2 separate regions of the Homo sapiens genome follow, and region 2 is linked to region 1. The links are contacts of gene promoters, found by promoter capture Hi-C in human tissues and cell types (Jung and others, 2019). All regions are on one chromosome and are shown on one strand. The core of a region is centred on a gene start or on the middle of the fragment in contact, and the rest is flanking DNA. Distances in the headings are between cores, read along the strand shown. Region 1 holds the start of WIPF3 (WAS/WASL interacting protein family member 3). Region 2 overlaps SCRN1 (secernin 1).

Region 1 (6,637 bases), core at 2,572-5,071:
GAGAGAGGTGATGATGGGCTCTAGTCTCAGCTGGTGGTACAGATGGGCAAAATTGGACAGATTCAACAGGCTCAACCTCAAGGAGGGTTGATGGGGGAAAAGTAGCTTTACAAAATTTCTGGGTGGTCCAACTAGATGGCGGGGGGTGGGGGGCATTGGGGGATGGGCAACAGAGTGGGTCAGGTTTGGAAGGAAGACCTGAAGTGTGGTTCCAGACCTGTAGCATTTGAGGCTCCTAAACCACCAAGCTCTTTCAGACTTTCTTTTCCCTGAAATGCCCTCCCTTCCCCACTTTCTGACAGGAGAAACTCCATTCATTAATGGATGCCCAACTCAGGTCTTGCAGGCTCCCTCCTTTTCTACAGATAGTTCATCATTTCTTCTCCTGTATCAGCTCTCTCTACAGCACAAGCTCCTCTCCTACCCAAAATTGCAATATTCTCTTCACAAGCTGTGTTCTCTACTAAGCTGTTGGCTTCCTGGGGGGCAGGGCTGTGAATTCATCTTTGCACCCCTAGCACCAGTGCAGTATCACCAGAAAATAGCTGATCTGTACATATTTGAGAGATTGAAGTGAGCACATGTGTACAAAACACTTAATATTTCTGGAGTGCCTTTCTCCTGAAGAGCTCAAGAAGTTACAGAACAGATATAAATATATGTTTGCAAGTGGAAGGTGTGAAAGGTGAGCTATTGCAGACACTTGGTGAGTGAAGAGAAGAAAAGAGGAGGTTTTTGCTCTTTACCAGGTCATAGTATAAGTTAGGAATACATTTGGCTGCAAAATTAGAAAACGAATTCTCAGAGGCTGAAACAAACATGGGTTATTTTTCTCACATAGGATATAGTCCATCCAGAGGTGGACAGTTGCACACTTTGGCTCAAGTGCGCAGTGATACCACACTGACTCTATTTCCCAGTGTGTTGTCCCAATTATATTGACCTTTTGGCCTCACAGTCTTTGGCTCTTGATTGCAATCTGGTTGTAGCATTACTAGGCATTTCATTTGCATTCAAATCATAAAGAAAGTGGGAAATGGGCTGGGCGCGGTGGCTCACGCCTATAATCCCAACACTTTGGGAAGCCAAGGTGGGCAGATCACCTGAGGTCAGGAGTTCGAGACCAGCCTGGCCAACATGGTGAAACCCCGCCTCTACTAAAAATACAAAAATTACCTGGGCATGGTGGCAAGCGCCTGTAATCCCAGCTACTCAGGAGGCTGAGGCAGGAGAATCTCTTGAACCCCGTAGGCGGAGGTTGCAGCGGGCCAAGATGGTGCCATTGTACTCCAGCCTGGGCAGCAAGAGCAAAACTCTGTCTAAAAAAAAAAAAAGAAAAAAGAAAAGAGGGAAAAGGAAAGACAGAACCAGAAAAAATTTTTCAGAGGCTCCCCCACCAGACCCTTCTTTCAACTCATTGGCTAGAACTGGGTCAATGACTTCCTTAGCTGTAAGAAAGACTGGGAAATCAGGAAGGGGATTGTCATGGTCGTCTTGGATCAATCATAATCCTGGGTTCTGTCACTAAGGAAGAAGTGGAGAATAGACTGATAATTGGGAAGACAATTCACAGTGTCTGCCACTGAACAAGTACCATCTACTAGGAAGAGCTAGTGCCTTCTTGAAGTCAATTTGTCTTAGTGGAGCTAGGTGGAAATGAATCCCTCCCTAATGTCCGTAGGAACAAGATGCTAATGGTATTGTTACTTCACATGGATAGAAAACACTGATCACCTGAATGGAATGCCTCTTGAAGCTTTCAGCCCCAAATGTCCAAATTGATTCCTCACTCACCACCTCCCCATCCCTACAACCAGGCATTTTAAAAAACAAATTCTTTGATCCAATCCAGCATCTCTTGAGATAAATAACAGGCTTTCCATCCAACTGGCTCATGCTTGGGCTGCTCAGGAGATCTGATGGGAACTCTCTAGGCCCATGGCAATGTCTTCTCTAATAGTTTGACTTTTCTTCCTTTTTGAATTAGAATACTAGTGGTTATGTATTTAGTGAGCTTTAGCACTGGAGGTCCAGAGAAGGAGAGTGGCTGGGTCATGTTTTGGGGTTTTGGGTTTTGTTTTTGTTTTAGTAACAATCACCCATGTAAGAGGGCTTATGAATTTTATGTTGGAGAACTGTTCTTCAGGTTCCATACCTGTGGTCATCTATTATGATTCTAAAGGAGGAAAGGGCAAGAGGAACTCAGGACAAACAGGTGGAAAGCAAGTGCCTCATCAGCTTCCACTCACTACACATAGACCTTTCGTCACCTAAATCAAAAGAGAAAACCATGTTCTTGACGACACTGGAGTGAAAGACATCAAAAGTGTATTATTAATCCTTGCTTTCGACACATTGCCCAGCTACAAACATGAGTAATTAAGAGATCAGCTAAGGGCTGCTTGGGGAACATACTTTGACAGCAGCCACTACAGAACTTGAACCTGAATACAGGCTGCAATCCACGTGTGAGATCTTCCCTGCTGGCATTGGCTGCTCCCTCACCTGGGTCCCCAACATTTCACACAAGCCTCAGCACAGCGCTGAGCGCCAGGTTTCTCCTCTATTCCAGACCAGCAGCAACTTTAGAGTTAGACACCTTGCCCTGAGGCCCTGCAGAGTGTCTGGCTCATGGCAGATACTCAAACACCGAGGCTGAGTGAACAGTCCACGAGTACCCGCTTAGCTCCTCCACTAGCAGGAATGCCCAGGACATGGGCAATACAGAATCCTCACCCAATGATCTCAGCACCTACAGCAATGCATTCAGCCTCGGACACAAACTTTCTGCATCCTCCAAGGGCCTGAACAAGAAATGTGACAGAAGCAAGGTTTTCCGTTCTTCAAGCTTATTTCAGGTTTGTTTTTGTTTGTTTCTTTGTTTGGTTTGGTTTGGTTTTTTGAGACAGGGTCTCACTCTATCGCCCAGGCTGGAGTGCAGTGGTTCATTGCAACTTTTGCCTCCTGGGTTCAAGAGATCCTTCCACCTCAGCCTCCCGAGTAGCTAGGACTAGAGAGCGCCACCACACCCGGCTAACTTTTGTATTTTTTGGTAGAGACAGGGCTTCACCATGTTGGCCAGGCTAGTAACTCCTGACCTCAAGTGATCCGTCCACCTCGGCCTCCCAAAGTCCTTGGATTCCAGGCTTGAGCCACCGCGCCCGGCCCTATTTCAGTTTTCAGTCTGCTTTCTCCTCCCTTCGACTCTACCTGGGACATCAATCTACCTCCCCAGGCTACCCGGATAATTCTCTCATCACCTGGCTAATTCACACTCAGTCTTCAGTTTTTCTCGTCGACGTCAGCTCCTCAAGAAGCCCTCCCTGACCTACTCCCCACCCCAAGTTTAGATCAGGTGCTCCCTCTGGGAGCCGGCTCAGGAGGCCTCTGCCTCCTCTTGGTTGTGCTGTAATCGCCCATTGGTCGCTTTCCTTTTCTAGACTGTGAACTCCACGAGGGCAAGAGGTAATCTTGTTCTCTCGTCCCCATCGCTTATGACACCGCCTGGAGCTTAGTAAGGGCTCAACATTTTGGAATAAATTCAAGGAGTGGCGTGTCCCCAGAGTAGCTGTGCTGGGCCGTGTGCCGCCCGCGCAACAGCTCCTATTTGGGGAATTCCAGCCTTAGGCCTCAGTCTCTCCGCAGCTGAGACTTGGGACTCTGTACCCGGGAGGCGCGCCCGCCGACTTGGGACCCGCCTCCAGGGTCCCAGAGCGACCCCGCCCGCCGGGGCCGTGTCCCTGCCGCGGGGCGGCGGCGGCTCCCAGGCAGGAGCCTGCGAGCAGGTGGGGGCGGCGGCCCCGCCTCCGCGTCCCGGCAGCACCAGAGCCGGTGGCCGGGGAGCGAGCCGGGCGCACCGAGCGCAGCTCGGCGGTAGCGGCGCCGCTTGGAGCACGGGCGCTGCGGGACGGAGCCCGGAGCCGGAGGCGGCGGCGGCGGAGACGTCGGCCGGAGCTCGAGTCCAGTCCAGCCCCCGGCTCCGCCACCTGCAGGTAGCGGCTTCCCGCGCGGGTGCGGGTCGGTGCCCGAGGGTGGAAGGAACGGGCGGTGTGGCGGCCGCCGCCCTGGTCGGTCCCGGAGCAGAGTGGCCCGGCCCGGGACAGAGATCCTGAGGGCGTGGGAGGGCCGGGGAACCCCCGCCGGGCTGCAGCCCCGGGCCCAGGAGGTTGTCGACGTGCCGCGCGGCGCTCACGCCCCCCACCCGCACCCTGCCACGCCGCCCCGGCCGGGCCGGGCCGGGCCGGGCGGAAACAAACCGCGGGGTGGGGAGCGAGGTCACCACGGGGTTGCTTGGTGACTTCTCCGGACTGGACTCCCCGGTGAGCAGCCCCTGGCACCGAGGCCGCCTCGGCCTGGTCCTTCGCGACGCTCTCTCTTCTCCGCTTCGCCCCCGGAACAAAAGGCTGGGGTCTCGCTGGGGAGGGGGCTGTCGCGGGAAGGGCTGGGGCGGAGTAAAAGAGAGCTAGGAAATTGCAGAGCCGGAGGTGGCTTGGGGAATACAGAAGGAGCCCCCTAGTGAGGAAGCCAACTCCAGAGATGTGAAGTGACTTGTCCAAGGTCACACAGCTCATGGGGACAGAGCGCAGGTCTCTGGACACCCCTCCCGTGCTCATCTCCAAGCCCCTGGGGTCAGTAGTCAGACTGTGCTCCAGCAATGTACATTTGGCCACAAATGGGTTTAGGGTCCTTTGGAGGATTAGGTGGTGGGTAGGTAGGTGGCAGAGCAGATTTCCCCCAGCCCCTGACACGCACTCTCTGAAGGTGGCGGGGAGGGCGGGCACCCGGCCGCCCTGGACCTGGAGGAGCGCCGCCCGGGCCCCGTGGGCAGGCAGGCACCGGCTCTCAGGAACAGCGCCTTTGGAGGGTGGCGTGCCAGCCGCGTGGGTGTGCCCGTGGCGGGCGCCGGGGCGGCGTGGGGACCGTGTGTGCGCCTCCCTCTGGAAAGAAGTTTCTGCAGGGAAAGGCCAGGAGAGCGGTTCCATGCGCCCTGGGACAGTGTGGCCAATCCCTGACACTCAGGGCGCTTTGTAACTGGCTGTATTGGGGAGGAAAGTTACTCTGTAGCAGGAAGTTAGGCTGTCTCTTCGCCTCTGTGCCTGGGGTCCTTGGCTGTAAATGAGGGCCTTGTTTGGCATGACCAGTGTGATTTAGAAGGTTTGTGCCCCTCCGCCTCCTCCTTTCCAGAATCTTTTCTCACTTCACAGGGAGGACTGGGAGTGCACTTCTTGTGCCCAGCATTAATAGTTATCACTGGGACTCCTGCCTCCCTTCAATTTTTTTTAACTTTATCATTACGAAAGAGGTCAGAGGAGAGGTTGTTTTTGGGCCTTGCAAGGAGATAAACTCCAGGTCAATACCTGGACAGGACATGAGGGAGGCTTCTGGGATGCTAGAAATGCTTCTCACCTTGACCTAAGAATTACTGAAGTTATACCCTTGAGACTTGTGCACTTAACGTAAATTCTACCTCAGTGAAAAAGTAAATAAAAATGTGATGCTAAAGTCCACTCATTGTGGTAACACACAGATTGCTGCAGTTTTCCAGCTAATGCATTTCAAAGATACATTTAAAAACCACAAAAACCAAATCAGAAAAGAAGTGGCGAGGAGGGGCAAAAGAAAGTTAAGAAGTAACTGGAAATGAAACATACACTGCAGATGCCTTTATGTGCATCACCTCCTGTGATTCGCAGCAATTCTTTAACAGAGATATTGTTATTGTGCCTTTTTTACAGATGAGAAAATAAAAGGTCACAGAGGTTAAATTACTTACTCAGGGTAACAGCCTGGGCACACAGACTTCAAATTCTAGACAGGCAACCTTCAACAGGCAATTTGTGGCCACCTGAATCGGGGCAGAGCGGTCAGGGTGACAGACACTTGTAGGCTGGCTTCCTGCCATTGCCCCCTTTTTGTTCCTTTAGGAGTCTCTGTTTTCACGTAATTGTGAGTGTGACATTGTGTCACAGATTGCAGTTACCCAGCAGCAGAAGGAATGGAGGAAGTGTGTGTGTGTGTGTGTGTGTGTGTGTGTGTGTCTAAGAACATACAGTTATAAGAACAGGGGAAAGCCAGCTGGTCTAGCCTGGCAACGCTCTTTTTAGGAGACTTATTGTTCAGAAACCATATAGTACAGGTTGCGAGTTTGCAGTCACTCCAACACATACACAAAGAATAAAGAATATAACCTAGGAAAGATCCGAGAAAACAAAATGTGATTAACAGTAGAGGGAAACATAGAATTTTCACCAGGATGGCAGTCAACTTTTTTACATTCTAGAATTTATAAATATGTTTATTAATGTTGAAGTTTTTAAAAAAGAAACCTACACAAATAACTCAGCAAAAGGAAGGAAATGTGTTTTCTAGCAAATGTGTTATAAATATTTAATATATATGAACTTTGGTGCAGAAATATTTGAAACATTAGGGTACAGTAGCCTTAAATCTACGGAGAAATCCTGAGAACTTTGTCCTGATGTGTGGTCTTCTAGTGATTTTATTTTTCTGCCTAATATTCCGAACTTAAAGAGGTAGAAACGTCTTTGTTTTACCACCAGTTTCAAGTTGCAGAGTTGAATGTTTGTCTTAGGAAGTTTTGGTGTAAAGAACGTGGGTTAAGGGGAGCAATTTAGAA
Region 2 (6,637 bases), core at 1,719-4,218, 120 kb after region 1:
ACAGGGCTCGGTCCCCTCAAAATCTCATGATACAGCTTCTGGGAAGGAGTTATTAACCCTGTCACTTCCCAGATTGCTGATACTCACAATGTTTCCATTTGCAGATTCCTGCCAAGAATGATGAGGCAGGATTAGGCCCAACTGGTGCTCTCCCACTAGCTGCTGTATTTACATACACTTCTGTTCATCATCTCTGCCCGTTTCAGGAGTAGCTGAGAGCTTGAATAGGTGGCGGTAAGCTCCCACCACCACCCCATGCCCAGTGCAGCTACCCGCCTGAATGAAGGCAGCTCCTGGGACATGTGAGGTGTGAGGAGTGGGGGGAAGATCCAGGGAAGTCAGCTGCTTTGTATTTGGGTTTGTGGGATGTAATGGCCTTGGCAGGAATGGTGGGGCCTGAACTGGTATCCTGCAGAGAAATGCTTCTATATCCATCTATCACCTCCTTGCCCTCTGTCTTCCCAATGCTAAGCCCATCTGGTCTTCCTTGCATGCTTTTCTATGCTCTGGTGGTAAGTCAAATCCTTTAAGTGAACCCGACATTGGAAACAAATCAGTTTAATTAAAGTCTCTCTGCTGAGATAATGTAGTGACTGCTAGGATTCCAGATATTTAACTAGAATCTAAATAGTCAAGAGTTCTTCCTTTTCTTTCCCTCCTTGGCTGAGAGATTCACTACTCTGTGGGTGGAACTGTGCCATAGGGCCATTCAATTACTCCTAGACTAGCTGTTGGTAACTAGACTGGGAATCATTTCTACACAAGGAATCCTGTGATGGCTGTGCTGCTGTGTGGGGAGAGCTGCCTCCTGGGACATCCATGCAGTGATTCAGAAGGCCACCAGCATGGCTATGTCTGAATCTCGGAAGTGAATAGGTTCCAGCTAACAAATTATCAGCTCTCCTGTAAGTGGAAGCAGCTCTGCAGTCCACCACACATAAGCACAGCGCATGGAAAATGGGAAGACAGCTTCTTCAGGAGCCCAGGATGTAGGAAGGAGCCAGGACTGGAGAGGGGTCCCTTTCTTCCTTCCAATTGGTTCTGCCCCCCAGAAGACACCTGTAGAGACACTGTGCACTACAGGCATGCACTCACGGGAGGCCACGGAGGGTCCCCTTGACAACACACACAAGAGCCCTGTGTGTGTGCACAAATGCCTCTTGTTAACCTGAAAGAAACCGCTACTGAGGGAAAGACTAAGACTTCAAAAGAATTTGCTTTTCCCGCCAACTCGGCACTGTGAAGCCTGCCTTTCAAGGCTTGATGAACTCTAGTCCTCTTGTAAAAGGCTAATGTGTCCATTGCCACTGAAATACAATAATAGCAGCTTAAAATCCACAATTAGTCACACAACCGAACAACAGGCAACGGGATACATGTTACACTGCACAGGAAGGAGACCTACATTGCAGAAGGGGACGCTGTGAGATTCAAGGTGGAACACAAGGTAACAGTTTGATCTGGCTTCAGAAAAGGAGGCCACATATTAACTTTCTCATTTTACTCAAACAGGAGAGTGGTTTGTTTTGCTGGTAATTTAGTAAGGTGGGAAGTCTTAAATAAGAAGGGGAAAGGGAACGCTTACTTCACTTAAAGAACTTAATCTCCGTGTCAACACAGTCATAGAAAAGGTCCCCCACTTCCGCAGGGTCCAGTGGCTCGGAGCTGGTCAGGATTTCTTCCATGGCTTCCAGGCCTTGCTTCTCCAGCTCCAGCATGGTGCTCCTCAGCTTGCGACCTTGCTCCTGAGGAAGGACACGACTGCTTTAGGTGTCAGCAAAATAGCAGGGGACATTGCAGCGGACACTGAAACCCTCTAGGGGGCCAGCTGGCTTCCTGCTCAAGGTCCTGTCCTCCCCACACTCCGTTTCACACACGACTGCCGCAGGGATTGTTCTAGAATGCCAGTATGATTATGTCACTGCCCGGCTTAGAACACCTGCACAGCTTTCTGCTGCCTTCAGGACAAAGCCCAGACCCCAGAGTGACACTGAGGGAAGGCCCTTCTGACATCCAAGACCACTTCCCCTGCATCTCCCCACTCCTCAGCTGGACTGAATTCACTGTAGCCCTCCAGCCTCTGCTGCTGTCTCGCCCCTGCACAGGTGGCCCTGCCCTCTGGAGGGCCATCCCCTTTCTCAGCGCTTGGTCGACGTGCACCCATCTTCAGCTTCCTTGCAAAGCCTTTCCTCTTCCCCGCACAGTGCCACACCGTTCCCCCTGCCATGGGCGCTGTCTCCCACCTTGTGCTGGCTTGCCTCTGCAGCTGTGGCCCCTTGGATGGGAACTGGGCTCATTTCTATCCTCCAGTGACTGGGAGGGCACTCTCAAAAAATGTTCATTGAATGAAAAAAAAAATGGATCAATGAATAAACAGGTGCCATGTCTCTCCCCTGTTCACTCTTTTTCTGAGATGGTGAGTTCACTTCTTCCATGGGACTCACTCATTTATGGCAGATGACAGTGAAAGCTTTCATTTGCCCCATGAGTCCCAGAACTGAGAAGCTGCTCTCACCACCCGCCCACCACTGCTTCATGCAGCATCATGTGACTCCACCTGAGAGTCATTTGTAAATTTCAAAACCCACCAGCCTCAGCAGCCTCATCTTGAACACACAGCCCTTTCTACCTCTTCATTCTAATGAACCAAATACCCAAAACACCATACACCACACAGCGACAGTTTTCATCTACTTGGGGCTTATGGTCATCCACCAAGAACATAAGCACTATCAGGAACTAATGTGGACAGCCCTGGAGAAAACACAGTTGAATGCAGTGGCAGCATGCATGCTTCCGATTATCTGCCAGCCTTTTTAGGCTGGCAGGGAGGAGAGATGTAAAATAACTGTGCGACCTTTACGTGTCAAATGGTCACTTCTATGGAAGAGAAGGGCAAGCTCTCAGAAAAGTGAGACAGCCCTTCTCAGAGATGCTTTCTGAATTCATCTGGATTTATTGCTTGGATTTTTCTCTTGATATCCTTTTTCTATAGTCCACCATGTCAAATGCAAGAGGCTCACACAGTCCACAGCACCAATTTACACAAAAGGTCCCCCTTTTGGGCCCTTCAGGCCAGTTTGGACCTATTAAAAGTTGTTACATAAATAGTTGGGGAAAACTGATGAGTGTCTAACAAGCACGTTCCTTCTTCCTCTCTTCAGCAAAATATAGGCTTGAATTTATATAAAGTCCATCGGGGTGGCTGCTGTGGACACACTGGGTGCTGTGGAACGTGCTTTGGGTGGTTTTCTTGTTTGAATTGATGACTTATCACTTTATTAACCAAAGGTGTGGGACTGGGGAGAGCTGCACTTTGAAGGATTACGACTTCTTTTTTAAAACTAGGAATATGAGTCTGGGCGCGGTGGCTCCTGCTTGTAATCCCAGCACTTTGGGAGGCAGAAGCAGGTGGATTGCTTGAGCTCAGGAGTTCAAGACCAGCCTGGCCAACAGGGTGAAACCCCGTCTCTACTAAAAATACAAAAAAAAAAAAAAAAAACCCTAGGAATATGAGAATATTTTCTAAAACTATGTTTGTACTATGGTAAAACATATGTATTATAACATAAGATTGACCATTTAAAAACTTTAAAATGTATAGTTCAGTGCATTAAGCTCATTCACAATGTTGTGCAACCAGCACCACCAGCCAACTCCAGAACTTTTTTGAAACAACATATGATTGTATCTTTAATAAAATGTTGCCAGCAAATAACAACTTTTTACCCCCAAAAGTACATAAGGAATTTTACACAATATATAACAGTTATCCCTAACGTACTGCATATTCCTATTATTCCTACGTAAACAGTAAATGTAAGTAAGATACTCAGCCTGCTGAATTCCAAAATAACATGAGAAGCAGAAGCTTTGTCTTATTTGGTTTCAAGAGCCTGGGCAGGAAAATGGACACCAGCCTTCTAGGAAAGGCCCCAGGAACCTGGTCTCTGGGAGAAGCCCGGTCACACTGGATGGGTGGGGGTAGGGTCTAGCTTGACATCTGCTTCCCTGCCTCCTTCCTCGCTGACCTCGCCCGCCCGCCTCCGCCTCCGCCTCTGTGGCCCTCATGCAAGCTCACCTGGTCACTTTCGATGATGGCACGTGCCCACTCGTGGGCTTTGTACAGCTCATGCCGGCGGTCTGGTTTCTCCTGGAACCGAGGCTCCTTTTTGGCAGGGTCGTCATCCCCAAAACAGGGAGACTGTGTTTTGGGGACAAGTTTTACGTCATCAACAAAGATGAAAGGCTTGAATATGGACCTGGAGAGGAAGGAGAGGCACTTCAGCCAGGCAGAGGCTGGGACCCGGGAACACCCAGAGACTGTCCTTTTATTCAGCAAACATTTCCCAAGCCAACTTATGGTGGGTGGTGGGTGTGGGTGACGGGTGGGTGGGTGAGTGCCAAGAGAGACATAACTGCATGTTTTAGTCGCTATTTTAGCAAAACTGCAGCCATTTACAAGCTGCAAATTCCTCTACTTACAGCAAAGAGACATCAAAACAGACTTCCTTTGTTCTGAACCATTTGAGAGGACTCTTTTAGCAATAAAAAGTGAGGCAAACAAACAGTGTTCTGAGAAACGGTGCAAGGAGCCATCTAGCTGAGCGAGAGAGGTTTGCCTTTTTTTTTTTTAATACCGTGGTCTGAGAAGCAGCCTTTGGGAAAGGAAGGGCCTTTTGGTTTGGGTTTGTTTTTAGTTTTTTTCTGAGGTTCTACCTTACTGAAAAATCTATGGAATATCTCTGACAGACCCAAGGAGGGGACAGAGTAAGAAAGATGACAGAAGAGGCCTTGGAGGGTGCACACCACACAGAAGTCTGGTTGTGTGAGAGAGCTAGCACAGGGCACAGCAGGTAGCTAATGCCCCCCAGCTCTCTTCAATTCAGTTCTCTCGGCAGGATGGATGTTATCTTCGGGAAAATGGCTGTGCGTATGCCTGCATGTGTGTGTACTTGTACAAGTCTAGGATACATCACCCCCCCACCCACCCACCCACACACACACACACACACAAGAGCCACGCATATAAACAGCTGTGGCCTGGGATCCCAGGCCAACGGGCTAAGGGACCACTATGGCCAACTGTAACGCCGGGGAGAGAGCCTTATCCTACCCTCCCCACATCCAGAGGAAACACTGCTGGATCAGAGGGCTGCTCCTGGCAGGCATGGGCACCTCTGCGTCCCAAGGATTGCCTGTTTTCAGCTGTACCATGGGGCAGCACCTGCAATAACAGCAGGAGAGAAGGAACTCCCCATATGTGCCCCATATGTATAGGTCAGATTTGTCAGATTTGGACATTTTTTTCTCCTCTCAACAGGTGCACTGTGGCCCACCTCGGGTACCTCAAGTGGGCTAGAGGTGAGCTAGGATGTTGATTCCCTCAGCCCTGGGGCATCTGGAGCTTGAGGAAGCCAGGGCAGCCTTGCCAGTATGGCACACAGGTATGAATATTTTCAGGTATGGGCAAGGTATGGTGGCTCACACCTGTAATCCCAGCATTTTGGGAGGCTGGGGCAGGTGGATCACTTGAGGTCAGGAGTTCGAGCCCAGCCTGGCCAACATGGTAAAACCCCGTTTCTACTAAAAATAAAAAAAAATTAGCCGGATGTGGTGGAGTGCTCCTGTAATCCCAGCTACTCAGGAGGTTGAGGTGGAAGAGTCGCTGGAACCCAGGAGGCAGAGGTTGCAGTGAGCCAAGATCATGCCATCGCACTCCGGCCTGGGTGACTGAGCGAGACTTTGTCTCAAAAACAAACAAACAGACAAAGAAAAACTATTTTCAGGTATGCCATGACCTGAAAAGGACTGGGAGCCAATAACCCTTGCCAGCCAATTTTGTCCTCGGACTTGCAGCAACAGTATCGGCTGCAGAACCTCAGGCCCCACCCTGTCCTGCTGAATCAGAATCTGCAATTTTAACAAGATCCCTGCGGATTCATAACATATCCCAGTCTGAAGAGCACTACTAAAGACACAACAGTAATGAGAAGTACTCTCTTAGGTTAGCTTCCTGATGTTGCCATGGGACAGGAGTCTCAAGTGAGAAAAGAAAGACACTGATCACAATATGCAAAATTGGGGCCCAGACTAATTTAATTTGAGTATTAAAAGCAGTGAGACCTTCGTACCCCAAGCTGGTGAACTGAGTGGTACTAGTTGAGGACTAGTGTCAGGTACTCTGCTGTTCTCTATAGATGACGCAAATATAATTGGAGACTGGGCCCATCTCCGATCCACTGGGAAGCATAAGGCATGCCAGGCTGCGCCCACCTGCTCAAAGTCAAGCCCTGCCAAGAACCTACCCTCCCTAGCCATCATCAAAAGAAGACCCCCTAAAGACATAGGGGAGCTACCCTTGCACAGAAGGAACACACACTTCCACTTCCTACAGCCCCTTGAAAATAGATGATTGCTATACCCCTCTACTGAGTGTTGAATGAATGGCTGTTGAATATGAAAAAGGAATTATTGCAAAACCTAAAACTGTTTAAACCAATTTTTACTATATGAAATTGAATTCTTTAACTGGTGAGTCAGTTGATTCTGCAAAAGGGCTGCAGATGGAGGGCTCGCTGCAATGGAGCAGTGGGGAGGAGGAGGGCCAGGAGAGAGCACGCCTAGCCATCCACAA

Evidence for each region. The method cuts DNA at HindIII sites, captures the fragments that hold promoters and counts their contacts. A contact is called where the count stands out against the background at its distance.
Region 2: a contact is called between a fragment that was not itself captured here and the fragment with the promoter of WIPF3 in region 1, in 2 of the 25 tissues and cell types used here (adrenal gland and liver).

The regions. Positions count from the first base shown.
Region 1 is chr7:29,802,687-29,809,323 of GRCh38, forward strand. It overlaps WIPF3 (WAS/WASL interacting protein family member 3), which reads left to right and starts at 3,822. Exons shown (of 9, transcript NM_001080529.3): 1 at 3,822-3,992. RefSeq lists an enhancer at 3,558-4,467. The HindIII fragment of the contact is 12,406 bases long and covers 2,303-6,637 here.
Region 2 is chr7:29,922,371-29,929,007 of GRCh38, forward strand. SCRN1 (secernin 1) reads right to left here. Exons shown (of 8, transcript NM_014766.5): 7 at 4,082-4,262; 8 at 1-1,745. The coding sequence ends at 1,587. Among named protein-coding and RNA genes, the nearest start is that of FKBP14-AS1, 63 kb to the right of the region's middle. The HindIII fragment of the contact is 5,344 bases long and covers 297-5,640 here.